7 separate regions of the Homo sapiens genome follow, and all the other regions are linked to region 2. The links are contacts of gene promoters, found by promoter capture Hi-C in blood cells and fetal thymus (Javierre and others, 2016). All regions are on one chromosome and are shown on one strand. Each heading gives the region's core, a stretch centred on a gene start or on the middle of the fragment in contact. The rest is flanking DNA. Distances are from core to core; before and after follow the strand shown. Region 1 holds the start of OR5D18 (olfactory receptor family 5 subfamily D member 18). Region 2 holds the start of OR8K5 (olfactory receptor family 8 subfamily K member 5). Region 3 holds the start of OR5D14 (olfactory receptor family 5 subfamily D member 14). Region 4 holds the start of OR4S2 (olfactory receptor family 4 subfamily S member 2). Region 5 holds the start of OR5M1 (olfactory receptor family 5 subfamily M member 1). Region 6 holds the start of OR5AP2 (olfactory receptor family 5 subfamily AP member 2). Region 7 holds the start of OR5M11 (olfactory receptor family 5 subfamily M member 11).

Region 1 (2,700 bases), core at 157-2,656, 340 kb after region 2:
TTTCTGCCTTACACAATGGCCACTTCTTCATTGTCCTATTATCAACACAGTTTTCATCCTTGAAGATGAGGACTATTTCTTCTTTTAACTTATTTTGCACATTTATAAAAGAAATTCATATGTTTCCTAAGCACTTAGTCTATTCCCGGTATCTTATAAGGAAAGGACATGAAATTAATATCCATTGACTTACGTAAGGTGTCCATTATATTTTAATCTTCACAATCAGACTATGATCTAACCCATACTATACTAATTTCATAAATGAAATATTAAAGATTAGAGGGATTACTGATGCTTCCCAGAAAGTAAGAGACAGAGCTAAGTTTAGTCTGTTGAAAAGAAAATCCATTTCGTTGAGTTGTACAACCCTAACTTTGTTTATTTGTAAAGATATCTTTAAGATCAATATTTATGGACAGAATTTATTTATATGTGTGACAAACTCCATGAAAGTAACAGGCTCAGTAAGAGAAGACTTTGGTGTCCAGTATCTCGGTGACTGTATCCTTGACATCTTTATTTCTCAGACTGTAGATCAGGGGATTCAACATGGGGATCACCACGGTGTAAAACACAGAGGCCACTTTGACTGTGTGCCTGGAGTTTTTGGAGTTGGGCACACAGTAAAGGAAGAGGATGGTGCCATGGAAGATGGTGATGGCAGTCAGGTGGGAGGCACAGGTGGAGAAGGCTTTGCGGCGCCCACTGACTGAACGCATCTTGAGGATGGTTACAACAATGAACGCATAAGATGTGAGAACGATGAGTAGTGTGCTGATTTCATTAAAGGTGGCAAGAAAGAATAGCAGCCACTGGTTGATGTAAGTATCAGAGCAAGAAAGGGAGAGTAGTGAGGAGAACTCACAGAAGAAGTGATTGATTGTGTTGAAACCATGAAAACATAACTTTAAAGCAGAGCACGTCAGTTCCAAGGAACATGAGACTCCCCAGGCATAGGATCCCACAACCAGCAGCACGCAGAGTTTCTGGGACATGTTAACTGTGTAGAGCAGAGGGTTGCAAATGGCCACGAAGCGGTCATAGGCCATCACAGCTAATAAAAAGGATTCAGTGACCACAAAGGTACAGAAGAAAAAGAATTGTACTACGCATCCTAAAAATGAAATGGTTCTGTCTTTGACAACAAGGTTCACCAACATCTTGGGAGCAATGATGGAGGAATAGCAGAAATCCACAAAGGAGAGTTGGCTGAGGAAAAAGTACATGGGGGTATGCAGTTTGGGGTTGATTTTGATGATCACAATCAACCCAATATTCCCTAGCACAGTGACATTGTAGATGGCCAGAAAAACCAGGAAGAGTGGGACTTGCAGTTCTGGGTAATCTGAGAAGCCCAAGAGGGTGAACGTGGTCCCACTTGTATTTCTATCAGTCAGCAGCATCGCTTCTGTTTCTTCGAATCTGAAAGTTAGTTCTGAAAACAAAAATGTTAAGGAGAATGAGAAAATAAGAAGGGTGATTGAATACCTTTACGGCTCCTGAAGGATGAAGCAAATATCTCTTCCGGAATCTATGAGTTTGTTGTTTAAGATTTCTTAAATATCTAACATGTAAAAACACTGTAATGTTTTTTAATTTCTTAAGAAAAATACAATTATTGAGTAAAAGAGTAAGTTAGTAACTGTAATTTTTAATATTTCCAAATATAGGAAAATGAGATTAAATATTTGTGATTATTTTAAATTAAAAATTTACATAATAATTTCAGGCCTCCTTAAGCATTCTACATAAATGATCTTCCTCGTATAATATGATGACTGATTGTGTAAATCTTATAATCAGTTATACAAATCAAAATTTCATAAATTAGTTTTCACATAATTTGTTTATACGATGACATTAACTATCAAGAGCCCTAACGCTTAACATTTGTGCCTTTATTGTTAATTCCATATAGCAGTTTAATGTTTGTCTGACCCAGAAAATTTGACTTCAAAATACAGCTGAACTAATTGTTTCAGAGCGTATGCTCCAAAATCAGGCTGTACTAATTATCAATCCTTCCTCATTGCTTGAGAAATAATAAATATCGAATAGTCAATACAGATACCCTTGTTTATTCTTTATTCTATAGGTGACAAAGTAGAAGCCAGAGAAGCTTTGAATTTCCTATCGATATGCCCAGGAAGGCCAATCTACACATCTGTGACTAGGGTTTTGATCCTTGAACTCCTAGACATGTAACCCTTTACCCGCACCAAACTCTGCTCCATTATCTAGGTCGAGATACTAACACATTCCCTTCATTAATAACCATACTTTCAATTAATAAGCAGACTAGAGAATCTACATAGTCCAGTGACAGTTACTGCCACAAAGATATATTAGAAAGCAGCATCAAGATAAAACACATGAGAATGGGATTGAGGAAAATCTTTTTACCCAGAAATAACTAGTGTAAGAGTCTGACTTGCAAACTTCCCTTTTCTTCTAGGTCCTCTCTGTCTATCCCTGTCTCCATGTCTATTTCTTTTCTCTCCCTTCAAGACACATTATATATTCATTGTGTCCATCTATTACCTATGAAGGAGAAGAACTAAAAACTTGAGATAGTACAGCAACATGAATACATTTCATGAGAAAACAGAAAACAATAATAGGAAAGAATCATTATATTGCTCTAATTAGTGTCCAACACCTCTCAGATGCTATCATATCTGTAATCTCTTTCTCTAT
Region 2 (2,754 bases), core at 215-2,714:
GGGATGTGCAGGCTAAAGCTGACATTCCATTACATTATAATAAATCTATTCTACATTAGATCTGTGGAAAATTCCGTTACTATTCCAATTGAAAGTCACTCTCACAGAGTTCCAGATTTTCAATGAGTGGAAACTGAAGGAGAGGGGAATTTAAGTGGAATAGGCTAAGACATCTTCACTATCTGTATCAGGGACGTTCCACTTTCTTTTATTGACTTCCCGTGTATTTTTTAAATAAAGGGAGAAGTACTTTTCATTGAAATAGTTTTAATTACAGTATTATATCTCCATGAATACTCCACTGTACAATTCCAGAAAAAAAGTCATTCACTAATATATGATGTCCTAAATTCTCAAATTATTTAAATGATTTATAGAACCTACCATCTTCACAGTGTTTTATTACAGAAAATAAAGTACATATAATTAAATAGTCATCACTGAATATTGATTTAAATCATGTTTTTGCAGAAGTGGATCCAGATTATGTGTCTTGAAGCTTAGAAGAATTTGACTTTTTAGATAAAATTACACATACAAGTTGAAAGATAAATGGGAATATTTATTTAGAATAGAAAATTAGCTTTAAATTGTAATTAGTAAACAAACCCATGGCCACAAACTATATAAAATTTATTAATATAGTATGTTAATTAATCAAATGCCAAATGCATCTCAGCATACAGGTGGCAAGAGTATCCTTAGAAGACATTCTTAAGTCAGAATAGGTAGTATTATTCAGTGATAAATATCATAGTGTCTGAATGATATAAACATATCCATTGAACATCAAATAAACTATTATTAACTCAATCCTTCTTTAGCTAGATCCCACAATGCTTGCAGAAATGTCAAGTCACTATGATATTAGTTGAAGTGTGATATACTAGAAGTTGGAATGAAAACAGAAAGCAGCCTTAATTGATCATGATTATTATATCTTACATTTGAAATTTTACAAAGATATATCATTTTTGCGTGCATTCGTAAGTCCCCACACAAGACCCTGGAAGTGCAAATGAGGGACCCCAAATCTTAACCTTCATTATCTTATTGCCATCTCTACCTCTGTCTTTGAGAATATCAAAATTACAGAAAAGTTTTACAACAAAAGTGGAAGTGAACAAAAGAAAATCATGATACCATTGTGCAGATGAAAAGAGCATAATCTTTTTGTAATAATACCTATATGGCTGTGTTATTAACCGATATACTTCAAATATTGATGAAACTATTTAATCTATGTTGTTTCAGTGCATGTATTTTACATGAATTCCTCTTTTAGGAAAGTAGAAAATTTTGCTTTATATTTCATTTCTGAATCAAATGTAGAAATAATGTTTCTATTATCTATTGTGAATAACAATCTATTCTGTCTACAAATATTATAATTTGTTTAAATAGCACTACATGGAACAGCTAATAACCCAACTGTTTCTTCCTAGAAGAGATAACTGGACTAAATGGGCCAACACAATCTAACAGTGCTAACTGAATTCATTCTGATGGAACTCACAAGGCGGCCTGAGCTGCAGATTCCCCTTTTTGGAGTCTTCCTCGTCATCTACCTAATCACAGTGGTGGGCAACCTAACTATGATCATTTTGACCAAACTGGACTCCCACTTACATACACCTATGTACTTTTCTATCAGACATTTGGCTTTTGTTGATCTTGGTAATTCTACTGTCATTTGTCCCAAGGTGCTGGCAAATTTTGTTGTGGATCGAAATACTATTTCCTATTATGCATGTGCTGCACAGCTGGCATTCTTCCTTATGTTCATTATCAGTGAATTTTTCATCCTGTCAGCCATGGCCTATGACCGCTATGTGGCCATTTGTAACCCTCTGCTCTATTATGTTATTATGTCTCAGCGACTGTGTCATGTACTGGTGGGCATTCAATATCTCTACAGCACATTTCAGGCTCTGATGTTCACTATTAAGATTTTTACATTGACCTTCTGTGGCTCTAATGTCATCAGTCATTTTTACTGTGATGATGTTCCTTTGCTACCTATGCTTTGCTCAAATGCACAGGAAATAGAATTGTTGAGCATACTATTTTCTGTATTTAATTTGATCTCCTCCTTTCTGATAGTCTTAGTGTCCTACATGTTGATTTTGTTAGCTATATGTCAAATGCATTCTGCAGAGGGCAGGAAAAAGGCTTTCTCCACATGTGGTTCCCATTTGACAGTGGTGGTTGTGTTCTATGGGTCTCTACTCTTCATGTACATGCAGCCCAATTCCACTCACTTCTTTGATACTGATAAAATGGCTTCTGTGTTTTACACTTTAGTAATCCCCATGCTTAACCCTTTGATTTACAGCTTAAGAAACGAAGAGGTGAAAAATGCCTTCTATAAGCTCTTTGAGAATTGATGTCAACTTTGTGTTTAATAATCAATTTGTAATATTGTTATAATAAATATATAATATAGATTAATGTCACTTGATAATTTTTCATGTGTATATAAATTTTCCAATTTTCAAATTTTTTTAATTGTTTTTTATTTCAATAATTTTTGGGAAGTAGGAGGTTTCTGGTTATGTGAATAAGTTCATTGGGGTAATTTCTGAGGTTTTGGTGCACTCATCACCTGAGCAGTGTACACTGTACTCAATGTGTAGCCTTTTATCCCTCGCCCACACTGCACACTTTTCCCTGTGTCCCCAAAATACATTATGTCATTCTTACCTATTTGTATCCTCATAGTTTAGCTCCCACTTATAAGTGAGAACATATGAT
Region 3 (2,826 bases), core at 235-2,734, 360 kb after region 2:
AAAAAGTTTTTTCTGACCATAAACCAGCATCAGCCATTTCAAATTGCTTCCTATATCTCTTTGAGACAATCTGATTAGCTGCTGATAGTATTCTATCTTTCTGGAGCATTAAATTGCCCAAAGCTCATCTTGCCTATTTTCCACCCTAGACTTCAAATTAGCCATTTCTCCAAGAAGCCCTAGTTTTGTTCCTAGGGGAAAGGTTTCTTTTTAGAGAAAATTTGGAGAATGTTGCTTGAATTTGTATAGTATTTGTTACCAAATATTTGTGTTTATTTAGTCATTCATATAAAAGTTAGAAATAATTTTGAAATATGGTTTCTCATTGTTTTCAGATTAAATGTTTATTTTCATTCATTTTGTATAAACTGGACTAAACTTGTAGAGATTTCTGAACCTGATAATACTGGGAATGCTATATCAATTCACATTTGACAATTCCATAAAAACCTCATATAAATATATGCTCTAGGCTTTAGAAACATTGTAGCCTCTGTTTGGGTTGTTCATTTGGATTGAAAACAACTTTTGAGACTGGTTCAGTGAAATGGAACTTGTGTATGTATTAACTTCCAGAAAGCATCCTTCACGTCTTTATTCCTTAGGCTGTAGATCAGAGGGTTCAGCATGGGGTTGACAACTGTGTAAAATACAGAGGCCACTTTGACTGTTTGCCGAGAGTTTTTGGAGTTGGGTACACAGTAAAGGAAAAGGATGGTCCCATGGAAGATGGTGATAGAAGTCAGGTGGGAGGCCCAGGTGGAGAAGGCTTTGTGGCGCCCACTAACAGAACGGATTTTTAGTACAGTCACAAAAATGAAAACATAGGAAGTGAGGATGATCAGTAGTGTACACATCTCATTGAAGGTGGCGAAGCTGAAAAGCAGCAGGTGGGGGATGAGTATATCAGAGCCAGACACAGAGATGAGAGCAGTATACTCACAAAAGAAGTGGTTGATTACATTAGGTCCAGAGAAGTTTAACCGGAGAGCATAACAAAGGAGTACCAAGGGGCCAAACATGCCCCAGAGATATGACCCAGCCACCAGCAGGGCACAGAGCCTCTGTGACATGGCCACTGTATAAAGCAGAGGATTGCAGATGGCCACAAAGCGGTCATAGGCCATCACTGCCAGCAAGAAAGACTCTGTCACCACAGCAGTGCAGGACAGGAAGTACTGCATCATGCAGCTAAAGTAGAAGATGCTTTTATCTGCCATTACCAAGTTCTCAAGCAGCTTGGGAGTGACAATGGAAGAGTAACAAAAATCAACAAAAGAGAGGTGACTAAGGAAAAAGTACATAGGAGTGTGAAATTTGGGGTTAATCTTGATTATTATGATCATCCCAAGGTTTCCTACCACTGTGATAACATACATGAGCAGAAACACAAGGAAGAGAGGAATCTGAAGCTTTGGGTAATCTGTGAAACCTAAAAGGGCAAAGGTGGGCTCCATGCTCAGATTCCTTAAAACCATCATCATAATTCCTTTTAATGGAAGGGTTGAAGAGAATTGTTCCTGCCAAAGCAAAATATGGGGTGAGTGATAATTATGTCATGACTTTCTTTGATTAAAAGGAAAAAAGGAGAAGGAATAGTTACTGGTCCTAGTTTTGTCCAAGAAGAACATACCTCATGCAGGCAGCTGTTATGTCTAAAACAAACCAAGCCAAGTCTTTGGAGTGTCTTTCCATTTTTATTACACTTTCTGTTTTCATACATATATATATGTGTGAATATATATGTGTATGTGTATGTGTGTGTATATGTGTACAGTAGTATACATGTCTACACATTAACTAGTAGCATGACATGCACATAACTTATAGAAAATGTTTATACATAAATATATAAACTAATAAAGATTCTGTGGAAAATGTAAAATATTTACATCAAACAACAACATGCATTGCTACTGTATTTGTTTATATAGACAAATTGATTAAAATATTCAGAATATATTTCTATTCTAAGGATAAAGGAAAATATTGTAGAAATCTGGAAAAAGAGCACACTAATTCCACTTTTTACCAACTTTTATTCTAGAAAGGCTACTTCTCTCATTGAATATCTTAGTTGCTGAGGAGTTGACAAGGACAATGGCCTACTTTTGACCTCTTGGTGGAATGGGCATTTTATTGGGGTTTATGACTTAAGGGTCAGCATCTACTATAGCTCAGGTATTGCATAAGTATCTTATAAGAGTCTCAAGATTTATCAGGTGAAAGTTCCCTTAAGCCTGACTAGTTTTCAATCTTATAAAAATTTACACACTAATTTAAGATGAATATAAAGGAAATATGGATAAATATCCATTTCCAAGTAGCAAGTTTATACTATTCATCATGAGATAATTTTCAATGGATATAAGGCTAAATATTTTCATGAGTGTTGACCTCATTTTTTAATATTATTGGGCACAGAATTGAATAACACAGTGATTTAACATTTAAAAAATCAAAGGCCCCATTTGCCGTATCAGGAAGACCCTATTTTCAGTTTCATAGAAAGCCTGAATACACTTACCTGCTACATACAAAGAAACAGGCTGCCACCCTCCTGTCTCTTCAGACAGTGTATACCTGAGGCACCAAGACTCTTTCATTTAACTTCATAGCCCTAGGGACTCAAACTCTGGAGAATCACTAACAACTTACTCTTTACAAGCATCAAAACAGGCAATTAAGGCAAATACCAAGTCTCTTGTGTCACATTTAGTGACTGGAATTTCCTTGAAACTACTCAGAAAAAAAAATGCAGCATGAAGTTAACTATCAAGCTTTGCTTGCATGTAATTCAAATTACAATAAAACTTTAAATACTTG
Region 4 (2,745 bases), core at 34-2,533, 510 kb after region 2:
GGATGGAAAAGGGTATCTGTAATAGTTTTGATTAAAGGAGCTTTTAGGATTCTTTCGCTAATCAACCGCAGGTGTAAATGATCCCTCCAATTACAGGTGGTCTAGCAGAGACCTGTAGATCCTCTCAAGATCCATCCAGCTGAATGCTGACAACTCCTACTAAACTCTGTGCTCTCAGCTATCCTTATGCAGTGAAGTCGTGCCTAATACTTCCAGCTTTTGGGAATCTATAGGATTGTGTTTCTTCAGGTATTCATGTTAGAGTTGGCACAGTAGTCATTACAGGTGTGCTATCTCTTGTGCATTACAAAATAATGATTGTAAGAGTAATAGTAATATGATTTAGATACAGTCTCAAGCACATCCCCTGCTTTTACATGCTCATTCCTCTTCAGTTATCCTGCTGAATTAAAAGAAAAATACCATCCTCCACTAAGAGAGCCCCTCAACTTAAGGAAGCTCACAACATAGCAGTTTTGAGCAACAATTATTTATGTTGCTTTGCTCTCATCTAGAAGAAACTGGGCTTTTGCACACAAGCCTGAGGATTTTTTCCCCTACCGTCCATATCACAAGGTTCTAGAGGAATTTTTTTTTTCATTCACCAATCTATTTTATTCAGGTATTCATTTATCTTAATTGCAGGATTGAGATCTAAAGTTCCATTTATCAGAATGTGCATCCTAGTAAAGGCTGTTAACCTTCTGAATCATGGCCTCTCTTGACTCCAACTGATGCAGTAACATCTTGCTGTTTCTCTCCTTAAGCCAATATCCATCACAAGGATGCCTTCCTCCTTTATCTGGGCATGTTGGGCATAATGACTCACTTTCCTTTGAAATTATTGACATTTTCTTATTTGTGTCCATCCTACCCTTCCTCACAGTCATGTTTAGGTACATGTTACTATCTTACTATCATGATTTTAATAATTTCATTCTCTCTGTATTTCAGAGAACAATATTTTTCCATTATTTTATAAATGTTCAAAATCTAACAATTTAATTATCTTTTTCCACAAATATTCTGTATTCGTTTGAAAAGAAAAAAAAATCTCACCAGTATTTTCCAGAGCTTGAGTTCACTTTATGTTTCTATCTCTTCTTGAGTTAATTTGGGTGCAGCTTCCCAAGGTAAAGTAACAGTGATGCCTAGGGAATTCCTTTGTGAATAATTAGTACCGGAAAATACCTGACCCCCCAAACTGAAAGGCTGGTAGAAATGAGTCTTTGTTGTTCCTGGTTTTCTCACCTAATGATACCTGCCATTTCACAGGGTCTTTGACAATAAATGCTGTTTTCTCTATTCTTACAGGTCTATTTAAAGAGGAAGATGCAAAATGATAAATGACCTTGGAGACAGCTTTTCCCCAAAGTCTTCCTCCATAGTCAAAATCAAATTGCAGCCCTACCAATGAACTTTAATTCTAGTGTCTGTTCAATTTTTTAAAATTAAATTTTAAAAATTGTTGCTAAATACAAAAACCGATCAATTCTCATATTAACGACTATAGCCCTAATCCAAAGCAATTCAGCCAAGAGAAGTAATAATTTTATCATTCTAAACCTTGTTTTTGAATTAATATGCTTTACTATATGCATTAAATAGTCCATATTTGATATAACATATTAAGATATCTGTTTTATGTTATTTATTGAATTGTAATTGTTCTTTCTTGAAAGCTATATTGTAATAGAAAATAGTATATTCGATTGTGCTATTTGGGAACATTGCTTTTCTTCTTAATTGATTCTATGCTGATTTATGGAGAAATAGCTGGGATAAGGTTCATGTTTGGCCTATGCTTGGAATAAGTATGGTGTTGAATTTAATTCATTTACTTTTATATTGTAAATTCTTAAGGTTGACTCACGAAAACTAATAATAATCTTGCTTTTTCTCTTCCTATTTCTATTAGTTTCTTTCCCCATGCTTGACTTTTTTACTTTACTCTTCTTACCTTATCTTACCTTTTTCTTTATTTCAAACAACATCCAAAATGTCCAAGAGATCCTACTTATATTTTCACTATCTGGAGTTAGCAGAAGAAATGAGTGAAAAATAAAGAGTAGGAAGTAAAAGAGCAATTATGCCCAGGTTTGTGGAAACATTCATCATGATTAAGCTAGTGTGTTAGTTTCCTGTTGCTGCTGCAATGAATTACCACAAACTTAGTGGCTTAAATCAATACAAAGTCAGTATTTCACAGTTCTGCAGGTGAGAAGTCCAAAATGAGGCTCACTGGGCTAAAATCAAGGCATTGGAAAGGATGAATCCTTCCGAAGTCTGTAGGGGAAAACTCATTCTGTTCCAGCTTCTAGAATCTACCAGCTTCCTTATGGCCCCTTTCCTTCATCTCCAAAGCAGGCAGTGTAGCATCTTCAAATTTAACTTATTCTGCTTCACTTTCCCATTTTAAATAAACCTTGTGAATACGTTGAGCCCACATGGATAGTGCACGATAACATCTTTGTTTTAAGGTCAACTGACTAGCAAACTTAATTTTTATCTACAATCTTAATCACCTTATCATGTAACAAAATATATTGATAAGTTCTGAGGACTAAGATGTGAACATCTTTGGAGATCCCTATTCTGCTGCTCAGTTATTTAGATGAGTAGTGGGGCGAGTCAGTATATCTTCTATTCCTACTTTGCAAAATGTACTTTGAGATCTAGGAGATGTTTAAAAATATGTTTTGGAACAAATGCTAAATATAATATATAAATAATGGAATATTAATG
Region 5 (2,905 bases), core at 164-2,663, 450 kb before region 2:
ATTAAGGGAGGAGGAAATGAGGGACACCAGTTTTATAATCTTATGATACCTTATATTCCATCTTAATTTTTTTTTTTGAGATGAAGTCTCGCTCTGTCACCCAGGCTGAGGTGCAGTGGTGTAATTTTGGCTCATTGCAACCTCTGCCTCCTGGGTTCAAGCAATTCTCCCTGCCTCAGCCTCCTGAGTAGCTGGGATTACAGGCACGCACCACCAAACCTGGCTAAGTTTTGTATTTTTAGTAGAGACAGGGTTTCGCCATGTTGGCCAGGCTGGCCTCAAACTCTTGACCTCAGGTGATCTAGCGGCCTTGGCCTCCCAAAGTGCTGGGATTATAGGCAAGAGCCACCGTGCCCGGCTTCCAAAATATTTAAGCAATATTATTGCATTTTACAATTTTAGTAATGCAAGGAACCAAAATAAAACAGAATAATTGAGATAGAGAAGACTTTACACATCAATTTGAAATAAACATATAGGAATGCCCTATATTCTCAAATTTCATGGGATGTAACAAATCTACATTTTGATTTTGATATATAGCTATATTTTATTAAATGATTTCTCGGAGTATAACCCACCACCCGCAACTCTAATAAAATTAGGGATGATTCTCCGTCTTGGTCAGACTGTACTTTGATCCATTTGTGCTAACCTGGAACTATATGTGCACTGGAAGATACAGACTAATGAACGCATCTCTAGGTCCCTTTGTCCTCCAACAAATACAGTGCTACACAATTTTCAAATATTCTCATTCTATTTGCAATTCCCTTTCTAAATCAACAATTTTATGCATCATCAATTTTATAAATAGCCCTGGTTCTGAGACCTTTGATGATTAGCATGTTAATATTAACCTTGATAGTGCAGACTAGTTCCAAAATAAATCCATAACGCCCGTCCTCCAAAGGATCCTGGGCCCTGACCAATACTTCTGCCTCCTTCTACTGATTATGCCACTCTTCTGCTCTCACAGTCTTTGAAATCTTTCATCTTCTCAAATGTCTCACCTGCCACAACTTCCTACCCCTCACTCATTAGATGACCTCACTGCAGTGTTTATAGGCAAAAGCTGAAGAGTTCTGATGAGAATTCCTTGTTTTCATCATACTAAAAAGGCAGAAGTTATCTACCCATGTTTTCCTCTTCCATGTTATTGAAAGGGATGGCTAATTTCTCTGTTTGTACTAAGGATCTCATGCACACTTGTACCGAAACTCTACATAAATGTAAAATAGGAATTTTATCCTCGCAGGAGAGTCTAGCTCCAGGAAGCATCAAATGAAGGTTATGCTCTTGAGGAACAAAGCATATTTTAATTGGCTCTTTAGAATTAGTTTAAAAATACTCTAGGGAAGATACCTAATAAATATATTGTAAATCTTGCTACCTTGTTTTCATAAGATATGGTCCATTAACATTAACAGGTAGGTCATTTTCTACATTTGTTCACTAAAAATACAATTTGTGTGTGTGTGTGTGTGTGTGTGTGTGTGTGTGTGTGTGTAGAGATAAGTATTCCATCAATGGGGAAAACAAATATTTTCTCCAATTTCACTAGACTTTTCTATCCATATGTTAGTATTGCATTGACTCTCTACAATCAATTATATGTAAGCTCTTTTGATGTATACATGAGAACTAAATAAACAATGGCTTTAAGGTGGAATTTTTGGAGTAGAAATTTTTACAATCTTATGTTACTTTCAAAGAGAACTGAGAGAGAGTGGCTTGAGTTGGAAGCTAAGACCCCTTTTAAAAATTATCTGTGCATACCTAAACAATATTGTCATGAGTGGGTTAGTGGCACAAAAATGGGAACAAAAAAAATCCACACTTTCCCCAAATAGTAGAATTGCATATCTGCTGTTTAAATGCTGCATTCCTAGAAAGATCTTCTTTGAGTGGTCATCTAAAAGCATCCTACATTCATGTTTTCTTCACAGAAAAATGGTTTGCCTGAAATTGTATGTAACTTTTTCTGTGTGTTTAATCTCTGTTCCCTCTATTATAATGTGTGCTCTGCTCCCTCTATTATAATGTGTGCTCCCTGAGCTGGGAGACTTGTTTACTGTAGTAACCGCAGGAATTGGAACAGAAAGAAATGAAGCTATACAGTATACATGAGTAAACAGGCAGTGACATTACAAAGTGGAAAAAAACAAGTCTTCATTTTGTACCCTCTTAGCCATATATCAGATAGAAATTAATTTCTCTAGTTTAATCGTTCCTGAATAAAGGTAAGGCACACAGCTATGGGTCTTAATTGAAAATGCTTTGCTTTTCTTTCTTCATTTTGTATCTGAAACAATACAATATCAGAGCTGGAGGTATAATAAAGATCAGACTTCCTTTATTTATCCATTTGAAAGATGCAAATAACCTAGGGTTTTTGTATTTAATTTTCATTCCTTTGGATTTTTTGTTTCCTCACGAAGTTTGAATAAAATTACCAAATGTGGAGTACACCAAGAAGACAGGTATAAATGTAGGAATGAATAAACTTATGTATGTATACATGTATGGCAGAGAGAAATAGAGAATATGTATGTTTGTGTAAGTTATGTGGGTTTGATGTATAGAAAGATACAGATTAAAACAGACATATAGGGAGACAATGTTATGTAAAATTTCCGATGTGATTATTGAAACAAGAGAAGTAATTGTCACCTAGATAAATAGATGAATGAGCGAATGATAAATGGATGAAACAAATGCCAAATCTGAATCAGAGAGAAATCCTCACATTCTTTGTCACTTTCAGTTTCAAGAGATAAGAAGATGTTCTCCCCAAACCACACCATAGTGACAGAATTCATTCTCTTGGGACTGACAGACGACCCAGTGCTAGAGAAGATCCTGTTTGGGGTATTCCTTGCGATCTACCTAATCACACTGGCAG
Region 6 (2,913 bases), core at 289-2,788, 480 kb before region 2:
TAAGTTTAAACTTTTGTTTAATAATCTGAGATCATGGAAGGGGTGGAGGATTTGCGTTAAATTGGAGGAGAATTCCGCTGGTGGTGTTTACATTTTGATTTGGAAGATCTAGTTTGGGCATCTATTCTGAATTTTCTTTTTTATTTCTTTTACTTTTCTTATCCTATGTTTGTCTTCATTACACCTTGCAAAGGGTGACTCTTATTTCCATTTTGATTACTTGGTATTAAATTATTCCCTTGATTAAGTATGGTGGCTGAAAAATTGCATGTGCTACTTCTGATGTTTTCTGGTTCTCTTGAGAACTTGTGAATGTGAGTATTAGAGATTTTCACTGGCTTGGCTACTTCTGCCATTTTTATCGGGGATGCCTACTCATTCTTACAATCTGATTCTCTAAATATTGGAATGAATTGTGGAAAATTACTATTTAACTGACCCTATTCTGTTCTCTGTAGATGTTTATTATGGAAAATCAGAGTGGGGTTCGAACTGTACTGGCTGTGTGGGAATATTCTCTATTTTCTTCTTTGGCCAGGCATTTTTAAGCTCTTCCTCTACCCCAAGAGATTCTGCTGTTTTTCTTTCTTTCTTTCTTTTCTCTTTCTTTCCTTCTCTCTTTCTTTCTTTCCTTTCTTTCTTTTTTCCTTCCTTCCTTCCTTCCTTCCTTCCTTCCTTCCTTCCTTCCTTCCTTCCTTCTCTCTCTCCTTCCTTCCTTCTTTCTTTCTTTCTTTGTTTCCTTCTTTCTTTCTTTCTCTTTTTTTTTTTTTTTTGGCACCGTCTCACTCTACTGCACAGGCTGGAGTGGTGCAGTGGTGCAAACCCAGCTCAGTGCAGCCTCAAACTCCTGGGGTCAAGCAATCCTCCCACCTCAGCCTCCTGAGTAGCTGAGACCACAGGGATGAGCCACCACACATAGCTTTTTTTTTTTTTTTTTTTAAATATTGCAGAGAGGAGATTTTGCCACATTGCCCAGGCTGGTCTTTAACTCTTGAGCTCAAGTGATCTGCCTTGCCTTGGTCTCTCAAAGTACTGGGATTACAGTTGTAAGCCACCAGGCCCAGCCCAACTATTTTTCTTGTCTGGCACTATAGATTAATTTTATTAACTTTCAATATTTTTATTCATTCTATTAGTACTGAGGAGGAATTGTAAGTGTCCTGAATTCATTCTATCATCCTTCTCCAGAAGTTGTGTCTGGAGGGTATGTCAGTATATATAAATTAATTTATTTATCACAAGTAATTATGACAGTCACATCTTAAGAATAAGTTATTTTAATTATTCAATAAAGAGTTAACTGTAGGAATGACCATAGTTAATACACACTAAATCACTTGCTTCAGTCATTAGTAGACAGCACATCTAGTACTACAAGTCTTTTGATTTGGCATCAAATCCAACATACCTTTTATTATGCTTTTCACTTTTTGCTCTTCTGTTAGAAGTTGTTTCACTAAAAATATATTATAGCTCCATCATGTATTCATCTGACTAAATTCCACTGTGCATCTTCTTTCTTATTGCAGCTCAAATGATGAGACTTATGAAAGAGGTTCGAGGCAGAAATCAAACAGAAGTAACAGAATTTCTCCTCTTAGGACTTTCCGACAATCCAGATCTACAAGGAGTCCTCTTTGCATTGTTTCTGTTGATCTATATGGCAAACATGGTGGGCAATTTGGGGATGATTGTATTGATTAAGATTGATCTCTGTCTCCACACCCCCATGTATTTCTTTCTCAGTAGCCTCTCTTTTGTAGATGCCTCTTACTCTTCTTCCGTCACTCCCAAGATGCTGGTGAACCTCATGGCTGAGAATAAGGCCATTTCTTTTCATGGATGTGCTGCCCAGTTCTACTTCTTTGGCTCCTTCCTGGGGACTGAGTGCTTCCTGTTGGCCATGATGGCATATGACCGCTATGCAGCCATTTGGAACCCCCTGCTCTACCCAGTTCTCGTGTCTGGGAGAATTTGCTTTTTGCTAATAGCTACCTCCTTCTTAGCAGGTTGTGGAAATGCAGCCATACATACAGGGATGACTTTTAGGTTGTCCTTTTGTGGTTCTAATAGGATCAACCATTTCTACTGTGACACCCCGCCACTGCTCAAACTCTCTTGCTCTGATACCCACTTCAATGGCATTGTGATCATGGCATTCTCAAGTTTTATTGTCATCAGCTGTGTTATGATTGTCCTCATTTCCTACCTGTGTATCTTCATTGCCGTCTTGAAGATGCCTTCGTTAGAGGGCAGGCACAAAGCCTTCTCCACCTGTGCCTCTTACCTCATGGCTGTCACCATATTCTTTGGAACAATCCTCTTCATGTACTTGCGCCCTACATCTAGCTACTCAATGGAGCAAGACAAGGTTGTCTCTGTCTTTTATACAGTAATAATCCCTGTGCTAAATCCCCTCATCTATAGTTTAAAAAATAAGGATGTAAAAAAGGCCCTAAAGAAGATCTTATGGAAACACATCTTGTAGAGCCATGTTACCCATCATTTGTTACGTAGAAGAAAATACATTTTCATGTTAACTGTATTCTCTGATTGTTTAAGCTGTTTCTCTGTGTTAAAGTAGATAATTTAAAATGAAGTATACTTTTTAATATCCTAGTATCTCATATATATATACACACACACACACGGGTCCCTTTGATGCACCAATACACTAGATGAAGGTTGGGACTGGAAAAAGTATCAAAACACTTGGAATTGGCTAATCTGGACTTAAGTTTTAATTTAAATATTAAGCTTATCTCAGTCTGAGTTTTATTATACAAACATTGGTGTCTTTGGGTTCTGGGCAAACAAACTGAGACAGAGAGATATTTTTAGGCAGAAAGTTTATCAGAGTGTTCTCACAAACAATATATAGTGAGGGGAGCAGGATTGGACAGAAGGAGTTGA
Region 7 (2,700 bases), core at 85-2,584, 380 kb before region 2:
TTTTTGTACGTTGCTTTTCTCAATAGTAACAGCAAGACAGAGTTTTGATTATAGGCATTCTAAAACTTACAGTAAAATAAATGAGGTGACTCATTTTGAGATGAGACAAGAATTGAGAAGCCTGTAATAAAAATTTCAAGTATGAAAGAATGGGCAAAAATTAAAAACTTCTCGAAAGAAAGGAAAATGTGAATTAGCAAAGATTCTGATGTGAAGAGAGGTAAAAAGCCAAAAGGATTTGTAATACCTCTTGTTAGATACAAGTTGTGATTAAAAGATTAAATACCAACTCTGAAAATATTAATTTATTTTCTTTCTAAACACATTAAGTCATTGCTCTAAACATCCTCAAGATACTATATGAAAATTTATTTTATTTCACAGTTCTTTGTTCATTTATTTGGCATATGTTTATTGAGCCATTCTGACTGTGCATTTTGAGCTATGATCTTGGAACACTTGCATTAGAATCCTACAGATAATCATTAGAGATGAAGATTCCAGTACCCCACATAAGAATTTCTGCAAAAACCTGTGATATGGGCTAATAAACAAGCTTCCCAAGAATTGCTTCTACACTAAGTTTCAATAATCACTTAATTCTCCTGAGAACATGACATCACGCAAGGCTACATGGAGATAAATCTGTGAGTAAAAATTGCAAGTCATTCATTCTTACATGCTCTCCTTTTTGCATTTTAAGAAAATTTAGTATAAAAATATGTGTTGAGAAGTATAATTAAAAAATGAACTTCACTTTGTCCCTGCTCTCAACACCATTATGTGATGAGAAAGTATATACTTTATAATGATACAATGGGGGCTAAATAATAAATTAGAGAAATATAGAATACTCTGGAAATAAAGAAGAGAGAATTCAGTGACACGTATTAGGAGAAATGGATGAGAAATGCTTCACAAAGAAGTGGCCTTTAAAGTGGGTCATGTAGCATGAATAGAATTAGGTTTTAAAAAGTACAGGAAGATAGAAGAGATGTAGCTCAGTCATATAGATAGATAGATAGATAGATAGATAGATAGATGATGGATAGATAGATACAGGTGTAGGTATAGATATATCTATAGGTGTAGAGAAAGAATATATTAGTAATGTAATGCCTAGGCAAATGATATAATGACATTGTAGACTTACAAAATTATAGTAAGTCTACCATAATTACCAAAACCAGTTTATGGTAGTACCCAGAAATAGATAACTTTCGATGATATATGAAGATGTGGAGAAAAACTAATTCAAATGAACATTAACATGGTATGTGCATTTGTTTATATTGGCTTTATTTCCATAGCTTGAAGAGCAAACTGTCAGGAAATGTCCAACACAAATGGCAGTGCAATCACAGAATTCATTTTACTTGGGCTCACAGATTGCCCGGAACTCCAGTCTCTGCTTTTTGTGCTGTTTCTGGTTGTTTACCTCGTCACCCTGCTAGGCAACCTGGGCATGATAATGTTAATGAGACTGGACTCTCGCCTTCACACGCCCATGTACTTCTTCCTCACTAACTTAGCCTTTGTGGATTTGTGCTATACATCAAATGCAACCCCGCAGATGTCGACTAATATCGTATCTGAGAAGACCATTTCCTTTGCTGGTTGCTTTACACAGTGCTACATTTTCATTGCCCTTCTACTCACTGAGTTTTACATGCTGGCAGCAATGGCCTATGACCGCTATGTGGCCATATATGACCCTCTGCGCTACAGTGTGAAAACGTCCAGGAGAGTTTGCATCTGCTTGGCCACATTTCCCTATGTCTATGGCTTCTCAGATGGACTCTTCCAGGCCATCCTGACCTTCCGCCTGACCTTCTGTAGATCCAGTGTCATCAACCACTTCTACTGTGCTGACCCGCCGCTCATTAAGCTTTCTTGTTCTGATACTTATGTCAAAGAGCATGCCATGTTCATATCTGCTGGCTTCAACCTCTCCAGCTCCCTCACCATCGTCTTGGTGTCCTATGCCTTCATTCTTGCTGCCATCCTCCGGATCAAATCAGCAGAGGGAAGGCACAAGGCATTCTCCACCTGTGGTTCCCATATGATGGCTGTCACCCTGTTTTATGGGACTCTCTTTTGCATGTATATAAGACCACCAACAGATAAGACTGTTGAGGAATCTAAAATAATAGCTGTCTTTTACACCTTTGTGAGTCCGGTACTTAATCCATTGATCTACAGTCTGAGGAATAAAGATGTGAAGCAGGCCTTGAAGAATGTCCTGAGATGAAATATTGTCATGACCATGGTGATGCCTTTGTTTCCTAATAAACATTAAATCGAAATCTTTGGCTCACATGTCCTAGCGTTCTGATGGTGAGTTTTAATATTCTCTGTGAGTCTATGTTGAGTGTCTCAGCTAAAAAGCTCATGCTGGGTAAAAATGAGATTTTTCTAGGCTTTGCTCCTCCACATATATTCCATGAATCAGCAGCATGAGCTCTTCCTTGGAGGTTGTTACACGTACAGAATCAAAGTCTGCACCTCAGGTGCACTGTATTTAAATATGTGTTTTATCCAAACTCCTAGATGATTGATAAGCACACTGAATTTTGAGGAGCACTGCTGTGGGTGAAACGTGGCATGCCCTGGAACACTGTTGTGCTCTTTTTGTTTACAATGGCAAACAAAATAAATGTGCTCCCAGCCCAATTTCTTGAATGTATTCTATTCTTATTC

The links. The method cuts DNA at HindIII sites, captures the fragments that hold promoters and counts their contacts. A CHiCAGO score of 5 or more calls a contact.
Region 1: the fragment with the promoter of OR5D18 here is called in contact with the fragment with the promoter of OR8K5 in region 2 in 5 of 17 cell types (erythroblasts, naive CD8 T cells, neutrophils and 2 more); the score reaches 7.9 in erythroblasts.
Region 3: a contact is called between the fragment with the promoter of OR5D14 here and the fragment with the promoter of OR8K5 in region 2, in 12 of 17 cell types (fetal thymus, total B cells, total CD4 T cells and 9 more). The highest score is 13.1, in fetal thymus.
Region 4: a contact is called between the fragment with the promoter of OR4S2 here and the fragment with the promoter of OR8K5 in region 2, in 6 of 17 cell types (total CD4 T cells, neutrophils, monocytes and 3 more). The highest score is 9.0, in total CD4 T cells.
Region 5: a contact is called between the fragment with the promoter of OR5M1 here and the fragment with the promoter of OR8K5 in region 2, in 6 of 17 cell types (naive B cells, naive CD8 T cells, total B cells and 3 more). The highest score is 8.4, in naive B cells.
Region 6: a contact is called between the fragment with the promoter of OR5AP2 here and the fragment with the promoter of OR8K5 in region 2, in 8 of 17 cell types (M2 macrophages, endothelial precursors, erythroblasts and 5 more). The highest score is 11.6, in M2 macrophages.
Region 7: the fragment with the promoter of OR5M11 here is called in contact with the fragment with the promoter of OR8K5 in region 2 in 13 of 17 cell types (erythroblasts, M1 macrophages, M0 macrophages and 10 more); the score reaches 14.3 in erythroblasts.

Annotation. Positions count from the first base shown.
Region 1 is chr11:55,818,336-55,821,035 of GRCh38, reverse strand. It overlaps OR5D18 (olfactory receptor family 5 subfamily D member 18), which reads right to left and starts at 1,406. Exons shown (of 1, transcript NM_001001952.1): 1 at 465-1,406. The coding sequence starts at 1,406. The coding sequence ends at 465. The HindIII fragment of the contact is 3,860 bases long and covers 1-2,124 here.
Region 2 is chr11:56,159,027-56,161,780 of GRCh38, reverse strand. It overlaps OR8K5 (olfactory receptor family 8 subfamily K member 5), which reads left to right and starts at 1,464. Exons shown (of 1, transcript NM_001004058.2): 1 at 1,464-2,387. The coding sequence starts at 1,464. The coding sequence ends at 2,387. The HindIII fragment of the contact is 6,274 bases long and covers 502-2,754 here.
Region 3 is chr11:55,794,214-55,797,039 of GRCh38, reverse strand. OR5D14 (olfactory receptor family 5 subfamily D member 14) reads right to left here and starts at 1,484. Exons shown (of 1, transcript NM_001004735.1): 1 at 540-1,484. The coding sequence starts at 1,484. The coding sequence ends at 540. The HindIII fragment of the contact is 1,368 bases long and covers 1,415-2,782 here.
Region 4 is chr11:55,646,865-55,649,609 of GRCh38, reverse strand. OR4S2 (olfactory receptor family 4 subfamily S member 2) reads right to left here and starts at 1,283. Exons shown (of 2, transcript NM_001004059.3): 1 at 1,060-1,283. The HindIII fragment of the contact is 13,020 bases long and covers 1-2,745 here.
Region 5 is chr11:56,613,382-56,616,286 of GRCh38, reverse strand. It overlaps OR5M1 (olfactory receptor family 5 subfamily M member 1), which reads left to right and starts at 1,413. Exons shown (of 2, transcript NM_001004740.2): 1 at 1,413-1,430; 2 at 2,768-2,905. The coding sequence starts at 2,785. The HindIII fragment of the contact is 6,001 bases long and covers 1-2,905 here.
Region 6 is chr11:56,641,064-56,643,976 of GRCh38, reverse strand. OR5AP2 (olfactory receptor family 5 subfamily AP member 2) reads left to right here and starts at 1,538. Exons shown (of 1, transcript NM_001002925.1): 1 at 1,538-2,488. The coding sequence starts at 1,538. The coding sequence ends at 2,488. The HindIII fragment of the contact is 8,469 bases long and covers 1-2,759 here.
Region 7 is chr11:56,541,891-56,544,590 of GRCh38, reverse strand. It overlaps OR5M11 (olfactory receptor family 5 subfamily M member 11), which reads left to right and starts at 1,334. Exons shown (of 1, transcript NM_001005245.1): 1 at 1,334-2,251. The coding sequence starts at 1,334. The coding sequence ends at 2,251. The HindIII fragment of the contact is 1,332 bases long and covers 559-1,890 here.